Linked DNA regions of Homo sapiens: regions 2 and 3 are each linked to region 1. The links are contacts of gene promoters, found by promoter capture Hi-C in blood cells and fetal thymus (Javierre and others, 2016). All regions are on one chromosome and are shown on one strand. Each heading gives the region's core, a stretch centred on a gene start or on the middle of the fragment in contact. The rest is flanking DNA. Distances are from core to core; before and after follow the strand shown. Region 1 holds the start of BBX (BBX high mobility group box domain containing). Region 2 has its middle 6.1 kb from the start of PLCXD2. Region 3 overlaps ABHD10 (abhydrolase domain containing 10, depalmitoylase).

Region 1 (2,889 bases), core at 305-2,804:
GGGTTAGACTCCATCTCAAAAATAAAATAAAATAAAATGCTGTGATTTTTTATATACTTTTCCTTTTAAAAATGATTTTTCTAAAAAAATAAACATCACATTTCTAAATACCACTTTGTTTTCTGAACTTTTTAAACTTTTCTGATTTTGTTTCTCTTTCTCCCTCTTACACAGGAGTGCTCACATGCACACATACACTCTTTTAACAACTTTATGGATGCGAGAGAAAAACCTTAAGACAGCATCAAGGAAATAAAAGGGGAACTGAAATAAGTTGCCCTAGTTGGGTTTTCTTTAAGTTTTAAAGCTACTTACCTAGGCCATAAAATCGTAGTGTTTATGTAATCTCCAAAATGTTTGTATTTGAGAATAATTCACCAACTCTTAAAACGGAAGGAACCCTAAGAAAACATCTAGGCCTAAGATAATGCCTGACACATAGTAGATGCTGAATAAACATTTAATTGAGGGAATCTGGAAAAGCTTCTTATTTTAATCTTAAAAATCAAAACCAAGTCTGAGCATTGGAGAGGTTAAGTAACTTGCTCAAGATTGCTCAGCTGGTTAAAGAGTTTAATCTACAATTTATTCCTTCTAATTTCCAGCTTTGACTTCTTTCCACCAACCTGTTGACTTATGTGTATTGAACTGTCTCATATAATCTTCTGAAGTTGCATTGTTGAAAAACAATCAGAAAGACCAGTCCTGAGGTTCATCATCTCCAAAAGTCATGCAACATATGATGTTCACATGAGATGTGAAATATGTAAAGAGTCATATATTTTTATATATAATATGCAAAATATAAATCATGTATATATTGAATCAAAGGTCTGTTTTGAAGGCTAAGGGTCAATAGCCAATCTTCCATGACTTATTTTACCTAACAGCACAGTTTGCATGTCCACACAGGTGATGGCAGTCCACTGACCAGTTAAAAGTTGTTTGGCTATTTCAGCAAAATGTTTATCTTTGTGTGTTGTTATATTGATTTTTTTGAATCTACCTACGAATGAGGCACTAACAACCTCAATGCATTAGAGTCCTGATAAACTTATCTTGCACTATTTTGGCCTATGTGATAGCTAACCCATTGACAAAAGAAATCCAAGGTGATAAAAGCCTTTCTTGGCCACTTGTTAGCCGGGTCAGGCTGTAAAATCGTAACACAATGCAGGCCTCTTCCATGGGGCACCAAAAGGCAGCGATGAAAAACCCCCCTCACTTCCATATCCAGTGGAGTTGTAGTTTATTACCATAACCCTCCCAAGTCAAAAGGACACCAGTTTCAAGCCTTGCAACTTGGTGCAGACAGGGGTTTTCCCCTTTACCCCACTCTGCTGGGCCTCTTTACCTGTCCTCTCCTACTGTCTACAGGTCCCGAACATTAGAAAATAGAAAATGTGATGATCTTTGTGTGTCTCTGTAAAATGTGTGTATGTGTGCGTGTGTTTGGGTGTAACGGGCCTCTTGTTTGGCTGCGCGGCCTGTCCGTCACTGCGCGGGCCAATGGCAGGCTGCCTTATATAAAATGAGTGTTTTCAGTCTCTCCGGGTTGCATGTACTGTATGTGGAGCAGTGTACAGTGAAGCGGAGGCAGAGCGGCTCCGCGAGCTTCTCTCCACTTTCCCATAGAGAAACCCTGACTGGCCGCTGAGGGCTAGCTACACACACGCCCTCACGCCCGGCGAGCCCGCGAGGTAGGCGCCCCCCATCCCCAGCCCTCCCTGGGCGCACTCCCCTCACTTTCTGTTTTCCTACTCACTTGCGAGCCGCCGGGCTGCAGCCCCAAGGACTCCGCGGCAGGAGCAGCGGCGGCGGCGGCGGCGGCGGCGGCGGCAGCCGGTAGGGTGGACTTGAGGAAGACGGAGGGAACCCCGCGCGTCCGGAGCCGCCGCCAGCCGGCCCGCTCCCTGGGCACTTTCCCCCTCCGCCAAAACTTTGGGTCGGGAGAGGTCGGGGGCGAGGGTCGCGGCGGCCGCGCCGGCTGGGGCCGGGGGGCGGGGGGCGCTGAGGCAGTGCCCTGCGAGCGGGAGGCTGGGGGCCGGGCTGGGGAGTAGTAGGCCAGCCGGTGCCAGGCTGCGTTTGCAACCAGCACCTCTCGGCACACAGGCAGCGCCGCCTGAGAGGGGCACGGGCGCCGGGGCGCGGGCTGGAGCGGCCCCAGGAAAACAACAACAGAGCCCTCACGCCGGCGGGCGGCTCGTGGCCGCCCGGGGAGCCCCAAACTTCATCTCGGCGAAAGTACGTGGAGCCCTGCCTGGTCTCGGCTGCCGGGGAGGTGGGGCCTGGGGAGCAGGGGCAGTGGAGGAAGGTACGAGGAGCCAGCCTTCGGTGGATTTATTGAACGTTTCGTCTGCGTTGGTGACCGGGAACAGCAGCCCAGTTGCTCGTTCATCTGGAGAGTTGGGATTTGGGTGTTCCGGCCCCGCAGATCAGTGCCCTCTCACCCCCCACCCCTACCCAAATGCGCGGCGAGTAGAGAAAGTGCTGTTTTAGTGCCAGAGTAGCCTGGAGGAAGAATAGGGGGAGAGGGGGAAGAGGGCGAGGGAGAAGGGGAGAGAGAAGAGGGAGGGAAGGGGGGGGAGAGAGGGAGACAGAGAGAGAGGGAGAGAGAGAACGGGAGGGAAGAGAGGAGGGGGAAGAGGAGGAGGGAGGCTGTGTCAGGATTTTGCTTGAATGTGGGATTATGTTGTGTCAATAAGTTTAAGGTGGAGAGAGCGAGGCTGAGGGTGGTGGTGGAGGGGAGGAGGAAGGCCTTGGCCGTTTAAAGTCTTATTTCTGAAGGTAAGTTACGGCTTTGCCTGGTCGCGATGACAGAAAACTTGCAGATCCTTTATCCGGGGATGGGGTCGATGCCTCTAGAAAGAGCTCCCTAGCCCTCTTAAG
Region 2 (3,182 bases), core at 544-3,043, 4.1 Mb after region 1:
AGACACGATTTCAAGCTTTGGTTTCAAATCCACTCATAGTCTTCTACTTTACTAAAGTTGGCTGGGCCATGAGTGAACAGAGCTTTCTTGTGCCTAATTGACTTCTTGGTGCCTTTCTTCCAGACCTAGGACTTTCACATTAGGGGTCACAAGTACCCAAGAATAAAGGCGTGTGCCAGAAGGGACTCGAAGCCACAGGGCAAACATAGCACATCCAGAACATCAATTTTGTGTGTGTGTGTGCATGTGTGTGTGTGTGTGTGTGTGTGTAACAAAATGTGAATGAATTTACAAAAACAAACTATGCAGCTTGAAAGAAATGCCAGGATCAGTGCTTGTCATGCCTGCCATACAGGGCTCTGGGGAGTGTGCATTTACTCAGCTCCATGATTAGGGCACATCTGGCGCAAGAGTTGAGAAGCTTTGCCCTCGGGCCGCACACACATCAATCCTACCACTGTGGAGGTGATGGAGGCACTAAAGGTGACTTCCATCCAGGTCATTCATACTTCCCACTCTGAGAGCTTCATTATGTGTTTTCTGAGCCTGACTGCCTGAGCTAAGCGCATCTCATCCTGGGTGCTGAATGCGGGGAGAGGGTAGAGAAAATGTTGAGGTGTCCCCAGAGGCTAGAACGTGTTACCAGTATAAAGGTACTCCCCAAAACACAATCTCAAGCTTTTGCTGGTAGCCGCATGATTTTAGAATATTAGGTCCATATTTATATAGAAGTTCTGTTAGTCCTGACTACAGCAAATGAAGTCAAAGATTTGAGTGAGGAAAGGCAATAAAAAGGAAAGAAAGGCTTAACTGTGCAAAGACAAAAGGTATCTACAGCAGGCAGAGGGAAAAAAACAGAGTACGGTTGGAAAGACCGTGAAGTTCATGTAGTTCAATCAAGCATCAGGTGCTTCAATTCTATCATGTTACTGTCTTATTGGTGCCAAGCTTGGCTTGGATGCTTCCAGTTATAGGAACTCACTTCCTCCTCTACTTCATTATATTGCTTAACTCTGACTTCTAGAATATTCTCCTTTATACTTGGCTGAAACAGAAAGATGTGTGGCATAAATTTTACTTTCTCTTTTACTTCTGCTACTCAAAGGAAGAGGAAGCTGTGGGTGCAGATGTTGCTAAGATAAACTACAACTTCCTCCATGACCAGTTTCTGCAGTTTAGGAAGGGCAGAGCCGAACACGTGGCTGAGTTGGGGAGTTAACTACAGACACTTAAGCAAATCAGAATCCTTTGAAACAAAATCATCAAAAGGCCAAGAAGCATTTGTAAGGGCTTTTGACTACAACCTAACATTCAGAGAGAGTTGATCAGAGAGAGTTGTTGACACACTAAAAATTCATTACTTTTATTTACATTGAAATTTATTTACTTTATTAAAAAATATTTTTGTTGGTTAAGGTTGTTTGTACAAACTTGTAATTTTAATATTTAAAAAGTTGGAAGAGAATGATAGTATTAGGTAATGATAATATTACTAATTTTTACTCCATGGATGAGGTGGCATCATGCTATTTCCAATTGATAGTGGCACACCAAATTGCAGAGTCATGTTGTTAAAAGAATGCATTCCCAAGATTAGATTGGTTAAATGATAACAAATGCACAGAGGTCATTCTGTTGTGACTGAAGCTCAAGTGATTACTAATATACACATTAATACAACAATGTCTCCTAATAATAGACATAATTCTCATAATTCTAGGAACCTTGGGGTGGGGTGGTAGCCTGGAGAAAAAAAAGGTAAGGGTGGCAGATCAATTGATTTTCCTGCTAGTTGAGATCAACTATCTCTGCCAAAATAGTCTTCCTAATTGCATAAAGTTATATGCAGCATGGATAAGAATTGTTTACTCTGCCATTCTACCTATTTTAACTTTTTTAAAAAAGAGAAATTTGTTGACATTTCAAAGCCTTCATCTCAAACATTTGAGACATAAAAATCCCCTGAGGAGAACATTTTAAAGACAGGAGGAAAAGATGCCATCCCAGAGGATCTGATGCAGGAGGGTTGGCATTTGATCCAGAAATCTGTATATTGCATAAACTCCTAGTTGTTCCTGTTGCTGGTGATCTACAGGCATTTTTAGGAATAATTGACACTGACAGAACATATTATACGTGCCTGAAGTGAGCCTTGAATACCAGTAGGTGGCTCTATAACATCTTAAATCAGGGACTTTGCAGCTAACTAGCTAACTAGCTAGAAAATAAAGGCTCTGAGGCCTTTATTTCCTCTCAATTTCCTTTTCAGGGATTGGAGGTGGCGTGGGAAGGAGAAATGGAAGAGGATGCTGGAATGTGGTGTGGTAGACGGAAATGAATGGATATTAAAATGAATTTTACAATCATCACTTGTTAGTAGCCCTCTCAAAAGTATTATAGTAACGACTACTGTTAAAATAAATTTTCTGAAAGCATACCAGAAAAACTTAATGTCCAATAAACTTAAAAGGCACAGAGGCTCTTAGGGTCTTCCTGAACACCGAGCTTTCAAATCTGGGAGAAACAATCTTATGGCCAGCCATTGCTGCCGTTCACTCTTGTCTCATTACAGAATCCCAGTTGTGGGCCATAAATACCAAGTGGGCATGAGGTAATATAGACAACGCTACTTCCTGCTTAAGCTTCTGCTTCTCTTCTACCCAGTTTCTCAAGGACACACCACCTGGGTATAATCCGGGAATGGTCACAGTAAAAATGACAAAACAATAGTCTCCGGCTCTACCCCAATCAACAAAATAAGTGGATCCCAATCCTCTGTCTTCTGATGTCAGGAATGTGTAAGTTGTATCATGTGTCCACAAGTGTGTGCCTCAGTGTCTCCATTTCCTTGGAGGCTCCTGAAGATCCCCAGTTGCTGCAATGATGTCACTCTTCCTGGAGGTAATTGCTGCTGCTGTCGTCACGTCCCAGCACCACCTATGTTGGTTGCATCTCCTCATTCTCCTCTGATCTTTATCATACAGTCTTTTGGCTTGAGCTGGGTGAAGAAGCTTGGGAAAGACTAGGAATAAACTCTACTGGTACGAGGCCATAAAGCAAAGCAGCTTCTACTCCATCCCATCTTTCGTTTACTTGGCTCCTCATTTCAGTCCCTTATTCCTTTTCCACCCACCCCACTCCCCAGCCAGAAAAAAAAATTGTGTGTGACGCATCACTGTGGA
Region 3 (3,293 bases), core at 13-2,512, 4.5 Mb after region 1:
GATAACTTCTGAGTTATTTTCTAGCACTAACAGCCTAAAAATCTATCCATCTAAATTTTTAGAAGAGTGACTCACAAACATTCATTCAATAATTCTAGAAAATACAGCTGTATATAAAACTTTCAGACTACCTGTTCAATATATTAGCAGCAATTATGTCAATTATAAAATTAAATAAGATTTAATCTTATTTCTTTTACCAAACTAATGAATTATTTTATTTTCATACTCAGAACTATGTTAAAATCTGTTCTGACTTATTCTGAAGATTGGAGTACTTTTTGGAAATAGATTCTCTAGCACTATACTGAGTGCTGCATAATAACAAAGAATTATAAAACATTGTACTTGCCTATGAGGACCTTTCATTCAGGGTGGGGAAACACAAGATAAAATACATGTTAGAAATTTGGCAGAAATACTCATCAGAATGTGATTGTGTCAAAAGAACAGTATACTTAATTGCATAAAGTTAGAGACAGTGGGATTGAAATAGATAAAGGAACGTTGAAGAATAATTCAGATTTGGGTGGGAGGGAAGTGCTGTCCAAGGAGGGGGACTGTCCTGAGCAGAAGATCATAATATCAAAAATATTGTTATCACTTTTCTTTTTTGCCACTGAATAAATTTGAATCGAGAAATCACCATTTTACCAGTTCTAAAATTTCAGCTTTGAGACTATGAGAGTTATAACCAGTTCCTGTCTCCCTATAAGACATAATGTGGCTTTTCTGCATTTTTGGATCCTGTGTGAGTATACCTTCATAAAGAATAGTGCTTAACTACAAATATTTAGTTTGAACAAGTTCCATTTTATTTGCTCTTATCAAAGTTCATCACAGTCTAATTATTGTTAACTATTGATTGCACTTTATTATAAGAGATTTTATCTTCTATTCTCTAATTTTTCAGGTTGCTTTTGTTGGGATTTTTTGCTGTAAAATTTAGATCTTCAATGATGAAATAGTTTATTACACAAGAAATAAAACATATGACTATATGAAAATGTTTTATTAAGGTCCTATCACCATGCCTAAAATAAGACTGATTCAGATCTCAGGAATATAACATATGGTTTTAAGGCTGGTATTCTCTCATAATTATTTGTAATAGAATTTTTATTTGGGACTACATCCCAGACTATTGAGGCTGCTAAGATGGAGATGTGCTACTGTTTAAAAGTTTTAAAGTGCTGAATATGTTTGGATTATCTTTGTCTCTGGATTGGGGTTCAGTGAGAGTTAACTATATTTTTTTAATGGTACCCTGTTAGTATCACCAAGTATTTATATTTTCCTTCATGAAGGAGCTGTACAAGTATTTTGCATCCTCACCATATATTTGGAAGGCAGCTAACTGTAAAAGATGCCACATTCAGCCATATCCAATTGCCACCTATGAAGAGAGAAAAGGAGAAAATTAGTTGGTGTCTTTCCCCCTTTTTTCTTCCACCCCTTCTACCCATCTCTTACATACCCTGGATTGAGGGGGAAACAGTAACTGATTTAGACTGCACCAGTTGCCCTGTTCTATTTCCCAAGGATCCAAAATCGTTTCACTTCAAACCTAAAGAAAAATTTAATTTCTTCTCTCCCCTATTTCTCATAAATCCCTTACTTACTGTACCAGCCATTCCACCAAAAAGGTTCATTTGAACTAGGCTCTGGGAAAGGATATCAGTAAAGAAGGGAAAATATATCAGTAAAGAAGATGATGGAAGAAGGTATTCCAGGTAAAGGAATCAACAGTGTGAGATGTGAAACACATAAGAAAACATAGACCTATTTTAGGAACAGTAAGTTCATCAATTTGTCTAAAGCAGTAGTATTCCCTGATGAAGTGAGTACTACTGTAAAATTTAGTAGTAAAAAAAAATTTACTGTAAAATTTATTGTGAAATCAATCTGAAATGACCAGAATATAATGGTTCAAAAAAACAGGCCAAAGCACTAAGTGTTTATGTTGTATATCACAGGGAGCACTGAAGGTAATGCTAAAATGTTAAAGAAAAAAACTGACATGTATATAGTGACTCTATTTAAAGACAGAGTCATAGAGACACAAGATAGAAGGCTACTGTGATAGTCTAGGTCTAAGATGACAAATAAACACCTACACCAAGATACTGGACTTACCAAAGTACCAAGAAAGGGATGAACATAAGAAGAAATGAGAAAGAATGGTGATGGTATAGGGCAGGCAGTATTCTGTGGCCTGGAAAAACAAACGAATAAAACAGCCTCCTCTTAAGGAACTGACATTCTAGTCAGAGGGAGATGAATGTTTAAAAACAAACTTGATTACAATACAATATGAAAAGTGTTGAGTACATACAAAAGAAAGTGACTGGTACTAAATGGGGCATATATGTCAAGTGAAGTTCCTCAGAGGAGGTGACATGACTTAAAGGGTGACTACGAATTTGGGTTGGGGAGGAAGCTGTTCTTGGCAGCAGAACAGCATGCTAAGGCTCTAAGTTATAAAAGGGTGTAACTGGGAATTAGGAGTAGTTCAGTATGACTAGAGTTTAGGTAACCTGTGGGTGTGGTATGATACTTTATACCACCATGATTTTTTATTGATTTGATACCCTTAAGGAGAGGTAAAATTCATAGATCAGACAGATAACTGAGCCTAGATAACTAGGAAGTTGGAAGGAGAAAGGGATGGGTTGGTGATGATGAATTTTATTCTGGTCTCCTTCCCTTCCATCAATTCACTAAATATACACTAAGCACCTACCACTCGCAAGGAACTGAACTAGGCACTAGGAACGCATTGAAACAAAGCTTGTGCCCATGTGGAACTTTCATTCTAATGTGGGAGATGGACCATAAATAATCAAATATATCTCAAGTAGTAATAAGTGCTATGAAGAAAATGAAGCAGAGTAAAGAATTAGAGAATGATGAAAGCAGCACAGTTTTAATAATTGAATGGTCATGGGAGGCTTTTCTGAGGATGTAATATTTGAGCCAAAGGCCTGAATGAAGTGTGGGAGCAATCTAAATGGCTATCTGGAGGAGAGTATGCCATGTGGAGAGAAAAGCTGATGAGATGGGAGCTTCAAGAAGCAAAGCGAAGATACAGTTGGGAGGGAGGGAGGGAGAGAGAGAAAACAATGAGAAATGAGATCAGAGAGGTGATCAGGCACCAAAGTATGGTAAGGGCTCTGGATTTAAAGATTATAGAAAGCCTTTGGAGGGTTTGCAAGACATGGTTTTGTTTTAAAAGGATCACTCTACTATATAGGGAAAGACAATGAGTGTGAAAATGCAAACAGGAGACTTTT

What was found. The method cuts DNA at HindIII sites, captures the fragments that hold promoters and counts their contacts. A CHiCAGO score of 5 or more calls a contact.
Region 2: a contact is called between a fragment that was not itself captured here and the fragment with the promoter of BBX in region 1, in 1 of 17 cell types (total B cells). The highest score is 5.6, in total B cells.
Region 3: a fragment that was not itself captured here is called in contact with the fragment with the promoter of BBX in region 1 in 1 of 17 cell types (non-activated CD4 T cells); the score reaches 6.4 in non-activated CD4 T cells.

What each region holds. Positions count from the first base shown.
Region 1 is chr3:107,521,408-107,524,296 of GRCh38, forward strand. It overlaps BBX (BBX high mobility group box domain containing), which reads left to right and starts at 1,555. Exons shown (of 18, transcript NM_001142568.3): 1 at 1,555-1,700. RefSeq lists an enhancer at 1,172-1,221 and silencers at 1,622-1,931, 1,962-2,051, 2,162-2,231. The HindIII fragment of the contact is 5,936 bases long and covers 482-2,889 here.
Region 2 is chr3:111,666,943-111,670,124 of GRCh38, forward strand. No RefSeq gene overlaps it. Among named protein-coding and RNA genes, the nearest start is that of PLCXD2, 6.1 kb to the right of the region's middle. RefSeq lists an enhancer at 993-1,042. The HindIII fragment of the contact is 1,694 bases long and covers 947-2,640 here.
Region 3 is chr3:111,982,715-111,986,007 of GRCh38, forward strand. All of the region lies in intron 2 of ABHD10 (abhydrolase domain containing 10, depalmitoylase), which reads left to right. Among named protein-coding and RNA genes, the nearest start is that of ABHD10, 5.3 kb to the left of the region's middle. RefSeq lists an enhancer at 3,292-3,293. The HindIII fragment of the contact is 3,051 bases long and covers 1-2,788 here.